Regions from separate parts of the Homo sapiens genome. Here all the other regions are linked to region 1. Evidence: promoter capture Hi-C in human tissues and cell types (Jung and others, 2019). All regions are on one chromosome and are shown on one strand. Each heading gives the region's core, a stretch centred on a gene start or on the middle of the fragment in contact. The rest is flanking DNA. Distances are from core to core; before and after follow the strand shown. Region 1 holds the start of ABCD4 (ATP binding cassette subfamily D member 4). Region 2 overlaps YLPM1 (YLP motif containing 1). Region 3 holds the start of EIF2B2 (eukaryotic translation initiation factor 2B subunit beta). Region 4 overlaps PROX2 (prospero homeobox 2).

The links. The method cuts DNA at HindIII sites, captures the fragments that hold promoters and counts their contacts. A contact is called where the count stands out against the background at its distance.
Region 2: a fragment that was not itself captured here is called in contact with the fragment with the promoter of ABCD4 in region 1 in 2 of the 25 tissues and cell types used here (heart right ventricle and mesenchymal stem cells).
Region 3: a contact is called between the fragment with the promoter of EIF2B2 here and the fragment with the promoter of ABCD4 in region 1, in 1 of the 25 tissues and cell types used here (stomach).
Region 4: a fragment that was not itself captured here is called in contact with the fragment with the promoter of ABCD4 in region 1 in 1 of the 25 tissues and cell types used here (aorta).

The regions. Positions count from the first base shown.
Region 1 is chr14:74,301,636-74,304,335 of GRCh38, reverse strand. ABCD4 (ATP binding cassette subfamily D member 4) reads left to right here and starts at 1,402. Exons shown (of 19, transcript NM_005050.4): 1 at 1,402-1,461. The coding sequence starts at 1,424. It also overlaps a transcript of VRTN not described here. RefSeq lists an enhancer at 954-1,313 and a silencer at 1,574-1,653. The HindIII fragment of the contact is 36,493 bases long and covers 1-2,700 here.
Region 2 is chr14:74,824,795-74,827,494 of GRCh38, reverse strand. All of the region lies in intron 18 of YLPM1 (YLP motif containing 1), which reads right to left. Among named protein-coding and RNA genes, the nearest start is that of PROX2, 50 kb to the left of the region's middle. The HindIII fragment of the contact is 7,009 bases long and covers 1-2,700 here.
Region 3 is chr14:75,001,483-75,004,182 of GRCh38, reverse strand. It overlaps EIF2B2 (eukaryotic translation initiation factor 2B subunit beta), which reads right to left and starts at 1,262. Exons shown (of 8, transcript NM_014239.4): 1 at 1,030-1,262; 2 at 788-908; 3 at 484-632. The coding sequence starts at 1,192. RefSeq lists enhancers at 904-1,584, 1,626-1,715. The HindIII fragment of the contact is 11,364 bases long and covers 1-2,700 here.
Region 4 is chr14:74,860,134-74,862,833 of GRCh38, reverse strand. It overlaps PROX2 (prospero homeobox 2), which reads left to right. Exons shown (of 6, transcript NM_001243007.2): 3 at 1-304. Among named protein-coding and RNA genes, the nearest start is that of PROX2, 15 kb to the left of the region's middle. The HindIII fragment of the contact is 3,852 bases long and covers 1-2,700 here.

The DNA.
Region 1 (2,700 bases), core at 153-2,652:
AAAAATACAAAATTAGCCGGGTATAGTGGTGCATGCCTGTAATCCCAGCTACTCGGGAGGCTGAGGCAGGAGAATCGCTTGAACCCGGGAGGCACAGGTTGCAGTGAGCCAAGATAGCACCATTGCACTCCAGCCTGAGCCACAAGAGCGAAACTCCGTCTAAAACAAAAACAAAAACAAAAAAAGGCCAGGAGCGGTGGCTCACTCTTGTAATCCCAACACTTTGGAAAGCCAAGGCGGGCAGATCACCTGAGGTTAGGAGTTCAAGACCAGCCTGACCAATATGGAGAAACCCTGTCTCTACTAAAAATACTAAATTAGCTGGGCGTGGTGGCACATGCCTGTAATCCTAGCTACTCGGGAGGCTGAGGCAGGAGGATGGCTTCAATCCGGGAGGCTGAGGTTGCCGTGAGCCGATATCGCGCCATTGCACTCTAGCCGGGGCAACAAAAGCAACACTCCGTATCAAAAAAAAAAAAAAAAAAAAAAAAATCTGTAATTGTCAACTGATTGACCTACCCAGCTAGACTGCAACTTTCATAAAGACAAGTGATACATGCATGTTGTAGAGTGTTTGGCTTGCAGTTGAAACTTAATAAGGATTGGAGGAAAGTGAGAAGACACATCCAGATTCAAATTTAGGGACCTGTGGGATCATGCTGTTTGGGTTTTTTTTGAGCCATTTCCCACCTCCCTTTGGGTACTAATCAGTCAACTGATAAGCATTTCATTCATTCAACTATCTATCTTATCTATCGATCATTATCATCTATTTATTTGTTTTTGAGACAGGGTCTCTCTTTGTCGCCCAGGCTGGAGTGCAGTGGCACAGTCACGGCTCACTGCAGCCTTGACCTTCCGGGCCCAAGTGATTCTCCTGCCTCAGCCTCCAGAGTAGCTCGGACCACAGGCGCTCGCCACCATCCCCGGCTAATGCTTTTGTCTTTTGTAAAGGCGGGGTCTTGCCATGTTGCCCAGGCTGGTCTTGAATTCCTGGGCTCAAGCGATCCTCCCGCCTTGGCCTTCCAAAGTGCTGGGATTACAGGAGTAACCCACCGGGCCCGGCTGGAAGCCTAATTTATACTTTTTTAAAGATCATGCTGGCTTCTCTGGGAGAATATGTAAAACATCTATTATACACAGAATCTAAAATACTTGCCATAAAGTAGTTACACTCTCGGATACCTATTGTCAAAAGGGAAGTCTCCCAGAAAATATGGGGGCGCTGTAGCCGCCGGGTCAGCCGAGTCCACTCTCTGGTACTTTTAGAGACGTCGGTCGCTTCCGGGAGAGTCCGCGTCTCCCGCACCTTCCTCTCTATCAAACGCCGTCTCTGTGGTAGCCGGGGCCCCGCCCCTCCTCGGACTCTACCCAGTACTGAACTAGGGGCAGCTGGGCTCCAGAGTCCCTCGGGTCTCAGGTCATGGCGGTCGCGGGGCCCGCGCCCGGAGCTGGCGCCAGGTAAGCAGGGCGGTCGGGGAGGAGGTTTGGGAGCAGGAGTTCCGGGCTGTAGGGAATGGGCTTTCCTGCCCTCCGTGCCTCGTCCGCCGCCCTGGCGCCCCCGTCTCGCCCCCGTGACTTCTGAGAGAAAGAGGAGCTCTCGAAGGGGCGTCCGCCCTCCCGCCGCTCTAGGCCGCTCCGCACCGGCCGCGGCCCCCTCCGTTCTTGGCCGGACTTGTGCCATCTCCTGCGGTGTGGGACCCTCACCCTCGCAACTGGCATTCTTTTTTTGAAAAGAAGAACCTCAGGTGCACAAAATTGAGTTGATCCTTCTCAGTTCTTGACACCCTGTGGGCCAATGCAAGGCTCCTTGTTTATTTTATCACTTCCTCTCTTCGTTCCTATTCCCAGACCCCTTTCACTCCCCTTTTCAGACAGCCACTCTGGTGTGTTATATAAGTGGCTTTACGGTCCACCTTGGGTAAATTTGTGCAAGTGTTACTTTGAAATCTATATAGCGGTTTCGAATTCTTCAATATAATATGCTGTGATTTTTCTTTAAACCTTTTTCCTCAACATTGTGTTTTTGAGTCCATCCATGCTAGTCATCTTGTTTTCACTTCTGAGTGCTTGCATGAGGGGTGCTGTGTGCATAGACTTATTCCCCTAGTGGTGGATAGATTTTTTTCTAGTATTAACACCCCCACAAGCCACACTGTAACGAATATTCTGGCAGTTGTCTCCTTGTGCATATTGTTGCATTTCTCTGGGTATCCACCCCAGAGTTGGGTCCTGGTCATATCTAATTTTGCTGGATTGTTCTTTGGAATGGTCACACTAGTTTATACTTCCCGACGGGCAGTGCATAAAGCTTCCTGTTTCCCGGTATCCCTCCATCGTTCAGTGGCGGCTGGTTTTGTAATGTTTATCAGTCTGGGGGGTGTAAGGTGGTATCCCATCGTGTACATTTTCTTTCTTTCTTTCTTTCTTTCTTTTGAGACGGAGTTTTGCTCTTGTTGCTCGGGCAGGAATGCAGTGGCATGATCTCGGCTCACTGCAACCTCCGCCTCGGGTTCAAGCGATTCTTCTGCCTCAGCCTCCTGAGTAGCTGGGATTACAGACGCGCGCCACCACACCCAGCTAATTTTTTGTATTTTTAGCAAAGATGGGGGGGTTGGCCAGTCTGGTCTTGAACTCCTGACCTCAGGTGATCCACCCGCCTCGGCCTCCCGAAGTGCAGGGATTACACTTCCCGACGGG
Region 2 (2,700 bases), core at 69-2,568, 520 kb before region 1:
GAGCATGTATTTCTAGTCTGAGCACCCTTTTTGAAATGTTTAATTTGAAATTTTATTGTGCAAATATGTTTAAAGTTTCCTTCTTGGGCTGAAGAAAGGCTCACACCTCTTCCACATGGCATACTGGAAACCAAACACACAGATGGATGGCATAAGGTGAGGGGAAAGAAATCTGGGGTGTTAATTACAGAATAAAGACTGGTGTTCAATACATGCACACTAATGATTTTCAGAGATTTCAAAAGATGAAGTTTTAAGATGAAGATGAAGTTTTAAATCCAATATGGCAGGTCACAGAATTTTACCACATATTTGAAACAGTATGTATTATAGCACAACAGAAAAATTCCTTAGATACATCTATGTATTTTCTAAATGTAAATGGTATTTCTGAAAATCTGTTCAACGTAAACATACAAGATTATGCACCTATACAAATAATAATTATATTCCAACTCTGAAGAGATGAATCTGTCTGACATGTAGAAAACCAATATACAACTCAAGAGTAGAGACAAATGACACTGAGATGAGAAAAGCAAAAGTACTTTATATGAAGAAACCTAAATTAGGATGGTAACAGTCTCAAATATTCTAGCTTCACAGTATGAGAAACTAAAATCATGTCACTGGAGTTTAAGTAGCTTCAATGCTGAATCCCACCACCTGATGTGGCAAGTAACAACCTGCCCTTGCATTATGATGCCTGTGTCCCAGCAGGGAAGAACCAGTCTGGTGGGACTGAAGGTGGGCCACAGGCAGCCTTCAACAACTCCATGCCAGAGGTAGCTCAGGCCTGTTCTGAACTGTTCTAAAAATCACATCACTTCCAATTTAACATTCAGGCACAGGCTGAACTGTGTACTAAACTTAATGAGCATAGACCAAGAATCTGCAATAAGCTCTAACCAGCTGCTTCAAAGACTATAGGTAAGTATGTTCTCACTGGCAGACTCATTTGTGAATCAAAATTCCTCTGTTTCAGATTCAACTGTTTTTGCTCAACATGTGACACTGCTAAAACTTAATACATTTCCACCCAGTATAATCATTTTCCAAGAGTAATTGGAGAATGTTGGTAAAGTACTCAGAAAAATAAATTGTACTTGGTAATCAAATTATATTAAATTTGTTATGATAAGGAAGGCAACATAAATAGGCTACAAGATCCGACACAAGATCCTCATGTTTTAGAGAAGAATCTTCTCAGTTGGCTCAATGGACCAACCTCAAAGTACTAAGCACTTTCAAGAATGCACACTAAATTTGCCTTCCTCTGTGGTGGGATTAGCTCTCAATACAGTGGTGCAAGATACAAGTCCTTATATACAACATCACTATCACTCTTGTTAAAAAATAAAAACCCGACTGTAAATATGTTAAAATTTATTTCCTAGATTTATTACCAGATCTTCAGTGCCTTTCACTGAAATGGTTTGTTTTAAAAATCCATTTCTGGAATTCATTGTCTACTATTCTGTCTTTAAAACTGAAAATTTGTATAAAATGTTTTTTTCTGAGAAGCAAATGGTAGACGGGCCAGAATGTTTTCCAGAAATTCCAAGAAATACCAATATTAATATATATTCTTGAATAATCATCACAACTAAATTCCCTTTTCCTTTTAAAAACAGAAAGAAAAGTAAAAGATGGACTGGCTTGAGTTTAAAACAGCATTACCCCAGATCATGTATTACATGAGGCCTCTAGAGATTACAAGTTAATATTTATCACTTTTACATTCCCCTTAACTATCTTTATTTATGATCTCTCTTTGCCCTAAAGGATAATCAATATTTAAGAGAACCAGAAGAGAGAAATGATCTTGGCATATTATGGGTCATTCTAATGTACAGAACTTCACAGAGAGTTAATCTAACGTCGAAATAAGCAGAACTAAAGCATTATTATTATTTTAAAAGTATTTTGTAATTTTTATTTTCCTACATATTTAATTGCATTTAAACACATAAGTGCTTTAAGGGTCTCTGGAAGATGACAATTGGTTATTATTAAGATTTCCCACAGAGGGAAGACTACTAGAAGAATATGTCAAAAACCACATATAATTTTCACATGACATAAACTAAAAAAAATCTTTTAGACTTGACAACAAAGCACCTATACCAGTAATGTAATAATAAAGTCCGTGGAACTGTCTTTTAACACAGAACCTAGTCAATACCAACTACTAACACAAGTAGTTGGGGCAAATTAAAGGCACAACTTATGTAATTGCATGTAAAATGCACTCCTCTGATGTCAGAAACACATGTCCCAAGCAATGAAGCAGCTCAGTGACTCAAACTTCCTGTATCAATTTAAGATACTTAGATGGTTCCTTTAGTTTTGGAGTATAATACCAGGAAAAGAAACATAAACTGACAGTCATACTTCATACATCAGTAAGGCTGATCTCAAAAAGTCCTTAGCACATTGTTTTAGATTTTTATTAATACATCTTAATCAACATGTTAAATGGTTCTCTTTAAGCGAAGTAAAACTGAAAAAATATTTTGCAGTTTTCACCAACAAATAATAGAGGGAATCCATTGGATATGTATGACTTTTTTGTTTGACAGATAACTTCACATTAAGCAACTCCAAATTCTGATTTAGACAATCATTTAAACTGGTTTACCTTGGAATTTGGCATTAACAATTTGAAGAAAAATTTAAACTGAATCTTATAAAGCAGGC
Region 3 (2,700 bases), core at 13-2,512, 700 kb before region 1:
ACACTTCTACATGAGAGAGACTGGCCAGAGAAGAAAAAATGGGGGAGCAATTTGGAAGCAGCTTCTTCATCCTCTGATTACAATGAATATCTGCAAGTCACTTGGACCGCAATGACAAGGGGGATAGAAATGGTATACGTGTACGTGTGTATAAAAATTCAGATAGTGAAGGAGGTCTATCGACCTTGGCTCTCTAGGGAGTTCATTTTGTTTCTTTACAATGAAAATAAAACTCTGTCCTAATAGAGTCTGTTCCACTCCACAGATCTGTAGTCTATCAAGGGTTGGTCTGTAAGGAAAAGTAGAGAGGATTACTTTGGTCCTGTCACCTGTTGCAACATTTCCTAATCAGGAAGGAGGACAAACCTCTGAGAACCAGAAGACAGCTAATCTCCCATCTCTGCTAATGAACAACCTTCAGAGGCTTCTGTTCCCTTATGTGCCTGTGACCAGTCCCATTTTCCCAGCGATCAGGCCTCTTACCCAGCTCCACTAGCAGCTCATTAATCGCCTCAATGATGTTGGACTGGAGTTGGGCATAATGGAAGCTGAAATCCTCGTTTAGGCCTCCGGATGTCAACAGTTTGTGCAGGGACTCCTGCTGATCACTCTCGTCGCTGCGTCCATGGAGTCTATAGAGGCAACAAGACCCAAAGAGAGAGGTGGGGAGGAGTGGTCAGGCAGGTAACAAGGGCTGTTCAGCTCCAATAAAGTCTCCGAGCAGGTAGAGGGGCCCGTGCAAAAAGTGTCACTGGATCCAACCAGGAGCCCAGGACGTGAGCCTGACCTGCCATACTCCTCCCGGATAATCTTGAGCACTCTCCGCACCATGTTGCCCACGGTGGTCTCGGAGGGCTGAGCGGCCGTCATCCTCCTGCCCTCTCTGCGGATCAGCTCCATCAGCTCCCCTACAGTCCAAAAGAGAGAGGATAAGAGGAGCCAACGCGAAGTGAGGCCTGGGAAATTTTCAGCCCTGGGATCGGGAACAGACAGGGGCCAGGTTCGCCGGCGGAGGCAGGCCGGCCTCACCCGCGTTGCTCCAGCGGTGGTCCGTGATGATCTGGCGCAGCAACCCTAGGGTCTCCCGAGCCATTTCCTCGGAGCTGCGCGGCCCACCACCCCGCTTCAGGGTCTCCACGAAGCTCTCGATCCTCTCTGACAACTCCGAGCCCTTCGCTGCGGATCCCGGCATCTTTAAGGTAGCTGCCTTCAGCCTTCACCGGCGGAATCCACACCTGCCAGACCACACAGTTTGCACTTCCGGGGCGGGCGAGGTCGGCTTCCGCTGTGAGGGGATGGGGGGAAACCTCAAGTTTGAGTGGAAGCCGGCTACGCCCTTCGTTGCCGATCTCCCGCCCCCTTCCTCTGCCTGAGCCAATCAGAGACGTGGGGCTCGGGTTGTTCAGTTATAACCGGGCGTCCGCGCGCCCCCGCGCCTCGGGGGCTGGAGGATCGGAAGCGGCCTTTCTTGGCTCAGCCGACGGTGAACGGAAGTAACCCGTCAGGCCTGTAGAGGGTGGCTGGTCCCGTTGCTATGGGAGCAGCAAGTCTCTACGCGCCCCTCACCGCGACTTAAGGCTACACTGAAGAAGTTGCGGCACTCCCTCCTGTCTTCCCAGCTCGGTGACTGCCCGAGCTGTCACTCCCGAGTGTCAGCTGACACTGACGCTCTGAATGCATGTCCAGGGTCGGCTGCCCCTTGGGCAGACGTCTCACTTTTGTTCTGTTACATTGCTTGGTACCGTTTGCGCCTGTGTCTAGGAGGTTCATGTCTCTGAAAACAAGGACGATATCTTTTGTTGCTTTTGTATTCTCAAGGCCTAACACGTCTAACAGAAGACGGCGAAATTAGAGATGAGGAAGATTAAGGAGATTCAAAGTGGGAGCCAATACAGAAGCAAAGATGACATCCTCTGATTTGGACAGAATTGTCCTCCTACAGAGAGGCCAGAGAGTATAACATAATACCAAGAGTTACCATTTACTTAAAGCTTACTGGTTCTTGGGCACTGTGTGTGAATTGTCTCAGTTAATAAGGTCTGAAATAGGTCCTCTTATCCCCATTTTACAGATTGGGAAACAGACCCACAGAATTTAAGCAGTTAATAAAGGATTGGGTTCATACTTAAATCCAGGTCTACCTGAACCCAAAGTATGTGTGTAATAGAAATCTCTATTTCCTTAAGATAAATTCTTCAAAGTGGAATCCATAGGCGAGCACATTTTAGACTTTTGTTACAATTAACAAATTGCCCTCCAAAAAGATTATGTCAATACCAAAGTTAGCCAAAGGTAGTACAAAGAAAAGAAAATTACAGATTAATATCTCTCATGAACATAGAAGCAAAAATTGCAACAAATTATTAGCACATCAAATCCTGCAATACATAAAAAAAGAATAATATGTAATTACAAAGTGAAACATAAACCTGGAATGCAAAGCTGATTAAACACTTAAAAATCAATGTAATATGCCATATTAACAATCTGAGAAGTAAAACCACATGATCATGTCAATTGATGCAGGAAGAAACATTTGACAAAATTCAATATTCATGGTACAAACTCTCAGAAAACTAGAACAAAAGGGAACTTCCTGAACTCGATAAAGGGTATCTACAAAATCCTACACCTAAAAATCATACTTCACAGTAAAAGATTGCTTTCTCCCTAAGATCAGGACAAGGCAAGGATGTCTAC
Region 4 (2,700 bases), core at 95-2,594, 560 kb before region 1:
GACTGCACCTTCCCACATCCAGGAAAATCAGATTCTTAGCCAGCTACTGGGTCATAGATACAACAATGGCCATTGGAGTAGCAGTCCTCCCCAGGACTCATCTTCCCAGAGGCACCCCTCCTCAGAGCCTGCCCTACGACCTTGGAGAACTACTAAGCCGCAACCATTGGTCCTGAGCCAGCAGCAGTGTCCCTTGCCTTTCACCTCTGCCCATCTGGAAAGTCTACCCCTTCTTCCCTCGGTGAAGATGGAACAGAGAGGCCTGCATGCTGTCATGGAGGCACTGCCTTTCTCTTTGGTCCACATATCCTTTAATAGCAATTGAAGTTCTCATTGTTGGCCAGGTGCAGTGTGGCTCATGCTTGTAATCCCAGTGCTTTGGGAGGCCAAGGTGGGAGGATTACTTGAGGACAGGTGTTCAAGACTAGCCTGCACAACATAGCTAGACCCCATCTCTAAAAATAAAAAATTATCTGCACATGATGGCCCATGCCTGTAGTCCTACTCAGGAGGCTGAGGCAGGAGGATTGCTTGAGCCCGGGAGTTCGAGGTTACAGTGAGCTATGATTGCACCACTGCACTCCAGCTGGGCAACAGAGAGAGACAATGTTTCAATAAATAATTTAAAATACCATTGACACTGTGCAGAGAAACAAGAAAACTAAAAGTTGAAGAGGAGCTGGGGACAGATCACTCAGGGTCTTCTTAATGTTGCTCTGGGCCTTCAGCTTATAGTGGTGACCACATTCTGGAATTTAAGGACCTGGGAAGGTTCACTTAGCTTCTTCTATGACCCATCGGGTTCTGCCACTTGACTTATTCCTTTGGGTCTAAAAGGGTTTTGTTTTGAGACTCAAATAGGCTTCTGAAATACAATGAATACCCTAAGGAAGAAAGAATCCATAATTTGGTTGTCAGCCACCCATAAACTTAGGAGGAGAGGGTCAAAGGAATGACGTCATCTAAGGTATGGCCTCCCCAACCCCATAGCTCTACAAGCAAAAATCCTATATTGTGTAGATAATTCCTGGGGAGCAGATGAGGAACAAGAAACTTCTGGGCCAAATGGAAAAGGAGTTTTCCTCGGGGATTAAACCCAGAGAGGTGGCTGGAAACGGCCAGAGGTCTCCAGTTTAAGGAACAACTTCCAAGGTGCAATGGAGTGCCTGGAGACTAGGGGCTGGGCATATGAAGGGAGAGGAGGCTCCCCATGAGGAGGCCTGAGTGGCCCAGGCTGATCTGCAGGGCTCTGGATCTTATTGCATCATCTTTGCAACCCTTAAGTAGACACTACTCTCTTAATGTATTTCCCAGAGTAACCCTCGGGATATTAATAATTGTTGAGTTAGAAGAAAAAGTACCTTGGGGAAATACTGAGATAGTTTCTTTTCTGCAGGAATTCTCAGAGCCTTTAACATGAGTAAATGGAAGCTCTAAGAGGAGAATGTACACAGCCCCAAACCCATATGACCACTTCTAACAAGCATCTTGCAGAACTTAAGTTCTTGAGAATATATTTTGGATGTTGCTTTTTAAGCTAGCTGTGCTCACGCTGCTGCTTCTTGTGTGCAGCTTTGAGGGGAATCTCCAGAAGCTGATGAGTCTATGGAGTTGCATATCCAGGTGGGAACAGTCGTGTCCTTTGCCTGGCAACTACTGTGAGGGCAGCAGGATGGGGTGGGACCAGCTCATTACCATGCCAGAACCTGCCTTTGTGTCCTAAATGCCATGAGCGCCCCCTGCCGGTCAAAAGTGTTGGAAACACCCCAAAGCTTTCCTGGAAGTTAGCGAGCAACTGTAAAACCAATGCTGAGAACACTTCACTTGCCACCACTCTTGGAGGCAGAGATTCCACCATAGACAGATTTTCTTTATAAGAAAGGCTACCTGTCTGGGCCTTTGATAACCACTAGTTGACTCTCCATTAAATTCAGACAGCTGCAAAAACACCTCAGTCTCCCAGAATTTGCTATTTGTTGAGCACCTACATGTGCCTGTTCCTGCCCCCTAAATTGGGGATTGGGCTCAGAGAGCTTCTGGAGGTTTGGGGCCTATCCTAAGAAATACCTAAGCCAGGACTGGCTGCATGGGTGAAGTACTTGACTATCTTTGGAATGACTTGGGACCCCCTAGCAGCACCCTGGCCCCTCAACTCTTCCCTCATTCCTGCTGCCTATATTCCAAGAGATTTATTCCTGTGGGCCATGAAAGCCACCTGAGAGCAAGCTGCTTTACAGCATAAAAAGAACGTTCACATTCACATGACATCCTGTGACATAGGTAGGGCAGATGTGAAGATCACGAGGGGAGCATTGACAGAACACCTTCTCGGTGGCAGGCATTGCTACCAGCACTTCACACATATGTGCCCACCACCACTTAGCTACAATTCTGAAACCCATAAAGCTTTGACAGGCCCTATGATTTTCCCCCCCTAAGAATGATGCAATCTTTTTTTTTTGGTAGCAAAACCTGGCTTGCACTGATTGGAGGCTATTAATAGATTTTATCCCACTTAGTATAGTCATACGTTCTGCTGCAGAAATGTTAATGTATTGGATTATACACTGTCTCAGCTGTGGATGTTAATTAATGTGTGGTACACACATCGTATTATCTTTATAAGCTAACAAATTCTGAAATCCAAACTCCATTTGGCTCAGCATTTCAGATAACGGGTTTAGACCTGTATTATCTCAC